2 separate regions of the Homo sapiens genome follow, and region 1 is linked to region 2. The links are contacts of gene promoters, found by promoter capture Hi-C in blood cells and fetal thymus (Javierre and others, 2016). All regions are on one chromosome and are shown on one strand. Each heading gives the region's core, a stretch centred on a gene start or on the middle of the fragment in contact. The rest is flanking DNA. Distances are from core to core; before and after follow the strand shown. Region 1 overlaps PHACTR3 (phosphatase and actin regulator 3). Region 2 holds the start of PHACTR3-AS1 (PHACTR3 antisense RNA 1).

Region 1 (5,930 bases), core at 1,108-3,607, 120 kb before region 2:
GTCCCTTCCACCGCGGGGACTTGTGCTTGCTGCTCCTGTGGGCTGGAAGTCACTCCCCGCTTCCTTCTGTCTCTTGGCTTTTCAACCTTCCTGCATCAAAGTCGGAATCAGCTGTGGAGGATGAGGAAGCACTGCTGCCTGGGTCCCACGCCCAGCGCATCTAATTTAACTGCTGCCTGAGCGGTGGAGGGTTATTAAATCTCTCCAGGTGATCCTAATATGCAACAGACTCTGAGAACCAGCCTAGGTCCTCCTGCCCACCTTTGGACCTGACTCAAACATCTCCCGGCCCCCCGAGAACCAGGTCAGGTCCTGTCTCATGATCTTAGGGTGCTGCATCCTTCACTGCACTCACTGTGGTCGTGAGTTGCCGGCTTTTTGTGGGATTACCTAATGGCCCCACTGGATGTGCGTTCAGAACAGTATTTTGCTCACCTGTGTCCTCAGCAGCTAGCACAGACCCTGACACAGAGTGGGCCCTCAATAAAATGTCATGGCATCAATTTAGGAGTGCATTTTCCCTCTCAAGGAAAGAGACTGTGTTTCAGGCCACTCTAGTCCCTGGTCCACAATCATTTAGCAAGAGAGAGAGTATGGAAGGTAGAGATGAGCAAACCACAATGTGGGGACCAATCCAGCTCCCCCACCTGGATTTGACATCTTTAAATGGTTGACAAAAGAAAAAAAAATCAAAAGAAAAATAATAGTTTGTGGCACATGAAAATTATATAAAATTCAAAGGCCAGTGGCCATAAATAAAGTTTTCTTGGGACACAGCCATGCCCTCTCATGCATGTTTTGTCTCCGGCTGCCTTTGCGCTACAAAAGCAGAGACAAGTAGTTGCAACAGAGACTGCACGTCCCCCTGAAATATGCACTATCTGACCCTCTCCAGAAAAGGTTTGCCGACCCTGATCTAAAGTGATTCTGTAAGCCTGCGGGTGTGTGATGTCGCCGTCAGAGGCACGGAAGCCAGAGACCAGGCTCCCACGGCAGCAGGGTGAGAGCCACACTGTCAGCCTGGCCGCGGCCAAGCATTCGTCTCCAGCCTCTGCTATGACTTCATCAGACAAAGTCATCTTGCAAAAATTCAGAGTGGAAAAAAGCCAACGCTCCTAGAAGTTTTCCCCTTTAATTAGTCAAACTATAGCTTCATTTTTGAGAGGAACCAAATCTATATACTTACTCTTTACTCAACAAAAGTAGTGTTTTTTTTAGAATAGATGAGAAAAGGCCTTAGCATTGTTTTCATCTTCCTTTCTCCTTCCCTAAGATCCAAAGGTATGCTTGTTGGCAACATATTCAAAATGCCGGAGTTTGACACTTTTTTGTCCCATCCCAGTGAAAATCCTCCAGATTTCTAGCTCAGCAACCGCATTCCGCCAAATCCGAGCGTCACGACGGCGTTAACCATCTGAGTGCCACGGGACTTGACACCAAGCTTTCCTCGCACATGTAAGGTTTTATTATCACTATGAAGCAATTTCCCATGTAGATTTCCCCTAAAAATAGCATCATCAAAATACTTCACTCTTCGAGTCTAAAGAGAGGAAACAATGACAAAAGCCTGGGCCCACAATCGGGTTTGTGTGCTGACAGGCCCGGCTGCATAAAATCTGGATTCGTTTATTTCATGAGCTTCCTTCCTAATTCCTGATATTTGGGCCAAATTACAAAGACACTAGTAATATTTTAAGGCTGAAGTGGGGAGAGAGGAATTCAATATATCCATGCAAGCCTCAGGAAACTGGCTATGCATGGCCAGATTCCTCAAATCAGCAGGCCAGAGCTTGGTCCAGCTCCAGAGAGTCTTCCAGAGGCAGTGAGGTGTTGTGAAACCTCCTAACCAAGATTTAGCCTCTCAGGGAACCGGAAGGCACCAAGGGCTAGTGTCAGCATCTAAGTCCTGGGCCTCACACCTCCAGGAATCCATCACAAAGAGAAAGACTTGGGAATTAAAGAACTCTGTTCAGTTAATTGCATGAGTGATAATAACTGGCCTTTCTGAAAGATGGAAACAAAGATGATTATGTAGACCCCACTGAGATTAAGCTCTCTAGACCAGAGACCAAGAGATCAGGATTTGTTCTGTGTCTCTGCTCTCAGGCTGCAATGACTTGGGGCAGTCACCACCCAGACCCTCCCACGCCTCGTCTGCAAGTGGGATAGCCGCTGCCTCTCTCCCCAGGGATGCTGGGAAGACCAATGAGACAGGGCGTGCACAATATCCCACCCCGCCCCAGCATGTCCTGAATGCTTCCTACATGGTGGTAGGGGGAGTAGGTAATAGTGGAATTAAAAATAATTTGCCCAAATGGAGGACTGAAATGTGAATATGAAAAAAAAATTAATGCTGAAAAAACCACTGCTACCACTTTAAAGGAATTGGGATAAACCACCAGATTCATGCACACCCAGCTCTGTTAGACATTCCCCAGAGAGGAGTGGTGCCATGAGGGGGAGCTCTTCAGCTCAGTAATGGGGTCTCCCGTGCCCCTGGGGGCTGGACCAATGGAATGGCTCCTGACATGGGGTGTCTCTCCAACCTTGCAGGCTTCATCTGAACACGGCCCTCCTTGGATTCTACACTGTTTCTGATGGGCTTCCTGGGCTCATGTGAGACTTTCCATTCTGCATTCCCAGCACCGTGCCCTTCCAAGCCAGGGACGGGTCCCACTTACCCTGCTCCATCATCTCCAGCAGCCCCTTCTTGATGAGCTCCTCTCGGCCTTGCCTGCCGGCCATCTTCTTCTCCAGCGCTGCCCAACACACAAACACACAGGTGAGTCTCAGGCAAAGGTGTCACTGGGCCCTGTCCAAGCCACAGCCAATGCCAGGCTCAAGTTTACAGACCAAAAACACTGAGCTAGCAGGCGCCTCGGGGTTAGGGGGCCTAGTCCACTGGCGAGGCCCAACTTTCTTACCAAGAGTGCTGCTAAGCAATGTGCATAAACCACAGCTAAAGAGCAGTGCACGCAGTAGATATTCTACAGCGATCATTTCTGTGATTTATCTGGAAAGCCCCTGCACATATAACGCCCCTCTCTAAGCTAGCTCTCACCAGCCATTCCTGCCCTTCACCAAATGTTCCCTAAATTACCAACCAAGGAAAGTGCCCTCCCTCTGCCGCCAACACCCCGGGCTCCTTTCCGTGGTTCCTGTTCGCCTTTGCGAAGTGCCTCCTGGCCGCTCTTAACATCCACTCACAGATGAGATTCTCCTGTGCGGCTCTCCCACTAGAGCTTCTTCCAATAAACCCAGGTTAAAAGCTTCCAGTCTACCAGATGGACAGGAAGGGAGGAGGCCAGCCCCCAGTCCCCTTCCACCAAGCCTAATTTGCCAAATCTTTGTCAATTCCGCCTTCAGAATAGCCCTTTCTGCCTCCCCTTCCCGGAGCAAAACACTCTTGAGCGACGGCCACCACCTTGTCCCATTCTCCCTTCTTTCACAGGCAGGCCTCGGGCTGCTCCACAATCATCTTCTTCCTTCCGTCAGGAAAACTGTTTGCCTACAGGTGAGCCCCAATTTCCAAATACAAGACTACATAACCACCTCAACCCTTTCTTTGAAAGATGCAGCTTTGCAAGGGCTGTTTCCACTGCTGTGATGATTTCCCCGCCTTTCCCAATGAACCAATTACATCTCAGCTCAATGCAGCCTCCTCACCTGGGTCTTCTCCGACCACTGGGCCCAAAGCAGTGCCCGCCCTGCTCATTTCCACCCCAGGGCCTGCTCCGTGATCCTGCCATTAACCCTGGATCACAGAGAGTCCATCAGTGTTCTGTGTGTGCAGGGGGCCCTGCCAGCTGCCGGGGAACAGACAGAGTCAGCCCACCTGGCTTAGCTTAATGTCTAGTTGGGGAGGCAGATGACAAACAGGCACTGGCAATGGAATTATTTCACTTACTCAAAAGCATTTCCTGAGCACCTGCTATGTGCCAAGTGCTGAGCTGGGTGCTGGGGAGTCACGGAGGGCAGAAGCCCTGCAGCCTTCACAGGTGGGGCTCCACTGGGGGAACAGGCCATGGTGATCAGGTGTTCAATCTATGGAAACCCCTTACACATTTACTGAGCACCTACTGTGTGCCAGGCACCATGTCAGGCACAGGAGATTCTGCCATGAGCAAGACAGGCACAGCCTCTGCCTGATGCCAGCACAGGTGGGAGGACAGATGGCAAGTGTCTAGAAGTGGGCGAGGAGGAATAAGTCAGGCCTGGGGCGGGGGACTGACTGGGGGGCAGTTGTCTGGGGAAACCCATCCCATCCTTGACCTCCCGGGTGGCTTCCCTGAGGATATTTACCCTAAAGCCAAAGGATGAAAAGGGAAACCCAAACACAGCAGGGTGGGGACATTTTTGGGCAGAGAAAACAGAATTTCCTTTCTGTGGTCCCAATTTCCAAGCCAATTTCCAGGTGCCAGAATTGTGGATAAAATTGACAAAGTGAATGCTGACCTTGGGAGGTGTCAGCAAAGAGGCTGCAGCCAGGCTCACAAAGCAGATAAGAAGAACAGGGGTGGAGGCCTCGAGCTCTGTGTGGACCCCGTCCCCAGGCCGGCACCAGGCGGTGCTCATGGTGGCTAGCCTCAGACATCACAGGTCTTTGCCTGCACTGACTCAAGGACTTCCCGATGACCCAAAGATGCAGCTGCGAGGCTCTACCCTCCCCCTCTCGGGGATGGGGACGTCAGTGGTGGTGCAGCTTGTGAAGGTGGTACAGTGTGTAAATGGCTGAGTGGATCTGAGCCACCTGCCAGGGCAGGCATGGACTGAGATGCTGGTCCACCCTGCAGCCCCTGAGAGCCATCTTCAGCCGGTTCCCCCAGCCTCGCCTACCAAAACCACTGTTTGCTACATATTTCTCTTTCAATCATCTTTGCATTCACTTCAACTCATCCTAACCCGTGATGCCCGTGAAATCAGGAATTTGATATGCTGAAACAAATAACACCCCCTGCTTTAAAGGAAAATAGTGGTTTGGAATAAGTAAACAAAATGCAGCACTGTTCCTCGAATTTCCAGATGCCCGAATGGCGGTCCTGAAGGTGGGGATGCTGCAGGTAAAAACCTCGAGACCTCCAATGCCCTTGCAGGGTCCCCAGAGCATCTTGCTGGTGAACTCACACGGCACAGCTTGGAGTAGGCCAAAGAGCCCAGAGTCCTCAGAAGACAAACCTCAGCCTTCCAGTTCCACTGCTGGGGTCAGCAGGCCTGGAGAATGTCAGAGACCCCCCTGAGGTCACGGAGGTCACTCTGCTCTAGTCCCCCGGCCTTTCACTGCTGCACAGACGTGCCTTCCCCAGCTCGCTGCCTTTTCGAGGGCTGTTCCCACTGCTGCCATGCTCTTCCCTGCCTTTCTCAATGAACCAATTACATCTCAGCTCAATGCAGCCTCCTCACCTGGGTCTTCTCGGACCACTGGGCCCAAAGCAGTGCCCGCCCTGCTCATTTCCACCCCCCAGGGCCTGCTCCGTGATCCTGCCATTAAGCCTGGATCACTAAGAGCCCATTAGTGCCGTGTGTGTGCAAGGGGCCCTGCCAGATGCAGGGGAACAAATGGAACCCGCCCACCTAGCTGAGCCTAGCATCCAGTGAGGGAGGCTGCCTTGCAGCCTCGCCGGAGTCTGCAATCGACTCACGTGCTGGTTCACTTGGTGGCTTCCACACTTTGTCACTCGACTCCCTACTCTGCGGAAAGCTCTGGGTGGGCAGGGCCTGGGCCCCTCCTGTTGGTACTGGGCACACAGGAGGTGCTCAAGATCTGCCGAATGATGATGCTTGTTCTGTTTCCACTTCAACAAGAATTCATCTATCAACTTCTTGGTTGGTAAAAATAATAATAATAATTTTGTAAAGCACACAGAAAAGCATGAGTGGAGGGCCTGCTGTCGGTGTTGGCCGCCTCCCCTGCTGTGGGCCTGGGCGCTGTA
Region 2 (6,926 bases), core at 3,261-5,760:
GGGAAGTAGGTGGGCATTTGCATTCCAGCCTGGGCACTTTCATGAGCCCTGTGATCTGGGCAAAGCCATTTCCTTCCTCTAAGTCCCTGTAATAATCAGAAATGGCAGAAGCCCAATCAAAGCTGCTGAAGCCTGAAAGGGAGGAAGTGTTTAACTGAGAAGCCCGGGGGTGCGCCAGCTTCACACACGCTGGATCCAGGGATGCAAATAATGCCATCGGGAAATCAACCTTCAAAATTGTCTTTGCTCAGCTTTCCTTTGGGCTAGTTCCATTCTCAGGCTCCAGCTGGGTTGGGGAAAATGGCCACCAGCACTCCAAGCCCACAGCCGACCAGCTCTGTGACTTCTTGTGGAGGGAAAACAACTCTTTCCAAGCGCTTCAACTGAAGTCCTAGAACAGATTCTCATTCGTGAAGCCTGAGTCATGAGCCCATCTGAGAACCAATTACCAGGGGCAGAGACTGTGCAGGATGATGGTCAATTCCACGTGGACAGAGACGGAGGAGGTGCACCTTTTCCCAGCCAGACGCAAGGGGACTGAGGAACAGGAGTGGGCTACTAGGACCTCCCCTAGCTTTGGTGCTCAACCCCAGCACATCCCAGGATGTGAGCATCTCAGGAACCTGGAGCAGTGGTAGAACACAGTCAGCACTGCCATGGCTCATCATGGCCTATGAAGGGCATGTGGTAGCATTAGACGAGAGGCCGCCAGCCACAGCCCAGATGATACAGTCCCCACACGTCCCGTACACCACAAGGTGAGGACGATAGGGAGGCAGGTTCAGAAGCAGGGACACTCCAGGTCAGTGTTTGCTCAGGCCCTGGCAACCTCTCTCCTGGGAAAGGACAGAGGCTACCACAGGCCGGGGCCAGATGCCACTCTACAGGGGCTTCTGGGAACACAGACCTCAGCTCTGAGGACCACAGGCATTCCCGTTCATACAGCCGCAGCCCCCAAGCCTCAGCCCAGTCATCCATGCCAGCCTGGGGTGATGTTTCCCAAGTCCTTTGAAAAATGAGGACAATGCAGTGAGGTGTTTTGGGGGCTGGCTCTGTGTCCTTGAAAAGACTGTCTTCTGTTGGAGTATATGGCCTTCCTGACTCTTTGGATTTGAAATTCCATTTCTTTTGGGAAATACTGGTGTTAATAGTGTTATTATTATACTGTTGTGAAACCAAGGATGTTCGGGTTTTTCTTCATTGTTGTTTTTAAACATCCCTAGTTGACCAAAATATAAAAGTTGGCAACTCCTGCCCACCCCTCCTGCCTCTGTCAAGGCCCCTGTAAACTGGACCAAGACAAAGTCCTACCTCTCTCCTCCCTCCATAGCTACCCAAAAACTGTCACTGCAAACAAACCTCCCTCCCCTGTCCCTGCAGAAAGGCAGGCACTAAGTGTTTGCTGTTGCTGGGGGCTAGGGGACAGAAGAGCGGGGCATCTGAGGAGCAGCATCCCCCAGGAGCTCATTAAAAATGCAGAGTTTCAGGCCCTACCCAAGCGTCAGAATCCACATTTTAACCAGACTCCCAGTGACATGTATGCACATAGAAGTTTCAGAGGCACCGGACCAGACTTTATCCAAGGACCTTGCCTTGATAATTATGGCAACCAAGGGCCCCTAAGATGGGCATCTGACCCTGACTTTTAGCCTCTGGGCATTCTTCCCTGAGCATGGCTTCTCTCCCAGTATGGGAGGTCTATGCCTCTTTCAGCCCTGCTCAACGCACACTTTAACTTCCATTCCACAATGACAGCTAACAGCCATGAAGCTAGCTCCACATGCCAGCATCCCTGGTGGTGGTCACTTCAACTCCAGAAACCCCACAGACCCACCCCTTCTTCATGAACGTTTTACCAAATCCCTCCAACCACCCCTGTCTACCCATCAGGTGTAACTTTCCTCCTCGAATCCCCTAGAACACCGAGAATCCTAGAGCTTCCTTGATAAGCCTAAGAACCCTCTGCCCCTGAGTCAACATTTCTCATGTCCCCCTCCCCACTTCGACAGTACAAGCTCCTTGAGGGTGGCCGGGACTGGACCCTGCCTCTGTGAAGGGACCCCCACCCAGTGGCACTTCCTCTAGATGGTGCCAGGTAACCGCCCACCCCAGTGGTACTTCCTCTAGATGGTGCTGGGTAACTGCACCACCCGGTGTCTCCCCAACTTCACTCACACGTCACCACTCTTATGGATGTTGCTCTAATAGAACCACTTGGTCTAAAATGAATATAATGTTTTCTTAAGAAAGTTTAAAATGAAAACTTGACGTCTACTTTAATGGAAATGCAATATTTTTCTAATGAAAAATTAAACAGGCTGGGAACGGTGGCTCAAGCCTGTAATCCCAGCACTTTGGGAGGCCTAGGCGGGCGGATCACCTGAGGTTAGGAGTTTAAGACCAGCCTAGCCAACAGGGTGAAACCCTGTCTCTACTAAAAATATAAAAATTAGCCAGGTGTGGTGGTGGGCACCTGTAATCCCAGCTACTCGGGAGGCTGAGGCAGGAGAATCACTTGAACCTGGGAGGCAGAGGTTGCAGTGAGCCAAGACCATACCACTGCACTCCAGCCTGGGGGACAGAGTGAGACTCCATCTCAAAAAAAAGAAAAAAGAAAAATTAAACAGACATATACCTGATATGAACGTTCTTTATAAAATTAATAGTTCATTTACCACCTAAAATCATCTCACACATTGCCAGGAAATCAGTGTCATGATTGACACTAATCAGTTGACTGGAAAGTGGCAACCACCAGGACACACTTGCCCGTGGGCTGGGCTTTAGGACCTGGCCCTATATTCATGCATTCTGCAGGAAAGTTTCTTCTTTCCTTTGGCTGCATGGAACCCCCTTGGCTGCCTAGAACCCCTGGTCTACAGCCACACCCACGGGTGTCATTTAATGCCATCACGGGGAGTTGGGTGCTTCCTTCTAGTGACTTGCCATCAGTCAGTGGGAAGACGGAAGGCCACAGTGGCTGTCTTGACAAGCACGACACTCATTCGGTGCCACCCACTGCAACTGTATTGAGGACAATTGTGAGATTAAGAGAATTTTATTTCATGAGCACTAAGCTCCAATTCCAGAGAGGCAACCGTGTTTATTCCGCTCCATTGTCTGATAAGGAGCAGAAGATGGAAGCCTCCAGATCTTCTGGGGACAGGCATGGAGCTCATACCCTGGAAGGGCAGGATGATCATGTGAAGAGAACCAGGGAGAAGGCGGCCACTCACAGCCACAGAGAGAGTCCTGGGACGGGTCCTGCCCTCACAGCCCTCAGAAGGAACCCGCCCTGCTGGCACCTTGATCTCAGACCTCCAGCCTCCAGCACTGCGAGAGAGTAGGTTTCTGCTGTGGAATCCCCCAGTCTGCAGCACATGCTAGGGCAGCCACAGGAGATGAGCTCAGCCAGAACAGCGGAGGGAGAAGGGGAAGGCTGGGCCTTCTCAGGCAGCCAGGGCCTTCCTGGGAAGAAGGGAGGTGGGGTAAAGGCTTGAGCCTCCACAGGCACCAGAGAAGCAGAGGCCTGGGGGCCAGGAGGAGGCTGCCCCTGCCACTGGAGCATGGTGGGGGCACAACGTAGAGAAAAGGAAGCAGGTGGGCATCCAGTCAGCATCCACACACGTCGCCCATGCCACTTCAGGAGCCAAGGGGCCTGGCGCCTCATTATTTAAAAGTCAAGTCTCACCTGGTTGTCGTGAAGCTATAGGTGTGATAAAATTTCATTCAATTATTCACTGAAAAAACAGCAAAAGTGCTTGCAAAACCTGGTGGAATTCGCTAAGGCCTCTGGTTTAGTTGGTTTAGTTAACCTCACTGTACCAATGTCCACCTCCTGGTGCCAACCAGTGAACCATGGAAAGGTGGATGCTGTCATTGAGGGAAGCTCTGCAACCCCCACGTGAGTCTAAAATTATTTCAAAAAAGTTTAGAAAGTGTGAACAATTGTATTAAAAACAAACAAAAAACAAGATCTAACCTCCGTGGCTCTTCCCAGCGCAGGGCTGTGGCTTCTCAGTCCTCTTCCCAGCCTTCCAGGGTCCCACAAATCCATCCTTCTCTGGCCCACCTAGTAGGTACTATGGGGAATCTTCCAGAGCACAGGCAACAGGGGAGGTCTTGAGACCAACCAGGAGTCAGGAGAATGAACTGATCCTCTCCCGTACTTTTTGTTTCTTTGTGTTTTTGTGAATTTTGTCAAACAGAACTCGGGGAGAGAACAGGGCTCGCCTCTCTCCCTGGGAGCCAGGAGCCAGAAATGCCTGCACGTGGCCCCATGCACGGCTGCACTCCGAGGGCCAAAGCCTCCATTCACGTGCAGGCTGCGGGGACAGTGCAGTGCTTGCTCTCTGTGAAATGCCCGATTTCAGCCTGCAGCCATCGCTAGCTTGCACAGCATCCCTGGCCTGCCTCAATGGCAACCCTTGTCCCCGAGAAGCACAAAGCCGCCTCTGCTCGGGAGCCAGGGCTGCAGCTGGGGGGCGTCTCCACCCCATGACTGGGCCCATTCTTCCCCAGCACACAGGCGACCCTGCCAGGGAACACGCATGGCTCGGAGCTCCCAAGTACTCTCTCCTGGCAAGTGAGGAGTGTAAATAAATCTTGGGAGGAGGACATGAGAGAGAAACACAGTCCCTGGAGGACAGCATTCTGGAGTGGCCACATGAGTTGGAAACTTCCATGCCGAAGCCTTAAGAGGTTGGTGAGTTTCCTGTCACTGAAGGCATTTGAGCAGGGACGAGAATTTTCCTGGGCAGGGATGGGCTAAGGAGGGGGCAGAAGGAAGCAAGCACTGCCTGGATAGATGGATGGATGGATGGACAGAGAGAGAGACGATAGATACACAGATTGATAGATAATGGTAGATGATCGATTAGCAGATGGATGACAGATTATAGATATATTGAAAAATAGATTATAGATATATTGATACATAAATAAAAATAGATAAATGATTGATGACTAGATGCTAGAATATACATATATTTATAGATGATAGATATATTGAGAGATAAATAAAAAAGAGAGATAAATGATAAATAGATGGATGATAGATACATACATAGATACACAGACGCTTCCTAAGCAGGAGGGCACAACTGAATCACAGATGCAGGTGGGCACCTGACCTAATCAGTGTTGTCCAGTCCCAGATATCTCTATCCAACCACACACCTCTCCCTAACTCCAGGTACAATTTCCACCTGGGGATCTGATAGGTCTCTCAAACAGAACCTGTCCACAGCTGAACAGAGCATTGATTTGCCCAACCCCCATCCTGCTCATCTCAATGGTTCCTCCCCATTGCCGCCAGAACCTCTCCATCCTTCCAGCTGCTCAGGCTGGAACGCTTGGAGTCATCCAGGACTCTTCTGTCTCATCCCAGCCATCTGATCCCTCTCACACCACATCTAGCTCTACCACCATCTTAATTGGATTCTCCTAAAAGCAGAGCTGCAGGCGGGCTTAGGTGAAGGTAGCTTATTTGGGAGGTATCTCAGGAAGCAGAAGCAAGGGAGCAATGAGAGTGAGGGAGGGAGGAAGGGCAAACCCACACACGTGCATTTCCAGGGTCACAGCTGTAGGCAGCAAGGTTGCATTCTCTGAAAGCTCCAAGAAGCACCCACCTAAAGGATGCATGCCTGGGATGTTTACTCCCATTTCGTCAGCTGAGGATTGTCCTTCAGACATTAGCTCCCCTCATGTCCTGGCTGCACTTTGATGCTTGGGAGAATATCCACAGCACTGGGCTCATGGCTGTGCTGTGCTGGAAAGTGTTTGGGTGGTATAAGGGAGCTGATATGTACATTTGCCAATTGCCATGGTGTAAATACTTCCCACTGCAGCCAGCTTGCAGCATTCCTGAAAGTGTAGCCACCTGCTCCAATACAGCGCTCATCACCCAACATGCTGGTTGATTGAAGCCACAGCTGAAGACCAAGGCAGAGCTGGTCCAAGGAATTGTGATGCAGGCACAAAGAACATCTGCTGTGAACAACCTGCTCCAAACCACCAGCATCTCTGACTAAATGACCTTCGAATCCTCCAGCACAATCTCATCTCACTCTGCAGCCATTCAAATCTTCAACGGGCAGCTCTGAAAATAAAGCCCAAGTCTTCCCCCAGGCCTCGGCACCTCCCTGGGATCCTCCCCTGGCCACCTCTTGGCATTGTGGGCATCAAAAACTTGCCCCTTTCCATCACTCACTCAGCCTCACTGGTCTCCTTGTTCCTACCACACCCAAGCACATGCCTGCTGCAGGGCCATTGCACCTGCTGTTCCTGCTGCCCTAGTGCTCTTCTCGAGGGTAGTCACATGACCAGCTCCCTCACTTTGCCTGGTCTCTGCACAGATGCCCTGCTCTGAGGTCCTCTCTGACCATCTATCACAGACAGTTGGGCTCTCCTCCCTGCCAGTCTCATTCCTCCAGCCTCACTTTATCATCACTCCAGGCATCTATAACCACCTAGAGTCCCATCATACATCTATTTCTATGCTGTCTGTTTCCCCTCATCCCACGAGACTACTCATTCCATGAAGGCAGAGACATGAGTCGTCACTGCAACCTGCCATATATAGCTATATGCATACTCAAAAAACGGTGACAGGCTTAAAACAGGTGTCCAGTAAATATTTGTTGAATGGCTGACGACCATGAATTCTGGAGGGAGAGTTCAGAATGGTTTCATTTTTAAATTCCCTGCAGAGGATTGCAAATAATATTTCTGGCTCTGAACACCTGGGTCAGACCCCCTCTAAAGTTTGGTCCAGCCCTGGTACCCCAAGATGGGCTGGCCTCTCCCCAGCACAATAGAAGCACTAAGATCTCTTGCAGCACAGAAATCTCCACGTCCCTCACCACAAACCCTGAGGTATTCGGTCACAGATACAAGCGGTGCACCCTCCAAATGCCACCCAGATC

The links. The method cuts DNA at HindIII sites, captures the fragments that hold promoters and counts their contacts. A CHiCAGO score of 5 or more calls a contact.
Region 1: a contact is called between a fragment that was not itself captured here and the fragment with the promoter of PHACTR3-AS1 in region 2, in 1 of 17 cell types (M2 macrophages). The highest score is 5.5, in M2 macrophages.

What each region holds. Positions count from the first base shown.
Region 1 is chr20:59,744,587-59,750,516 of GRCh38, reverse strand. It overlaps PHACTR3 (phosphatase and actin regulator 3), which reads right to left. Exons shown (of 13, transcript NM_080672.5): 3 at 2,682-2,759. Among named protein-coding and RNA genes, the nearest start is that of PHACTR3-AS1, 120 kb to the right of the region's middle. The HindIII fragment of the contact is 1,828 bases long and covers 1,444-3,271 here.
Region 2 is chr20:59,625,873-59,632,798 of GRCh38, reverse strand. It overlaps PHACTR3-AS1 (PHACTR3 antisense RNA 1), which reads left to right and starts at 4,510. Exons shown (of 2, transcript NR_040513.1): 1 at 4,510-4,701; 2 at 5,850-6,335. All of the region lies in intron 1 of PHACTR3 (phosphatase and actin regulator 3), which reads right to left. The HindIII fragment of the contact is 11,450 bases long and covers 1-6,926 here.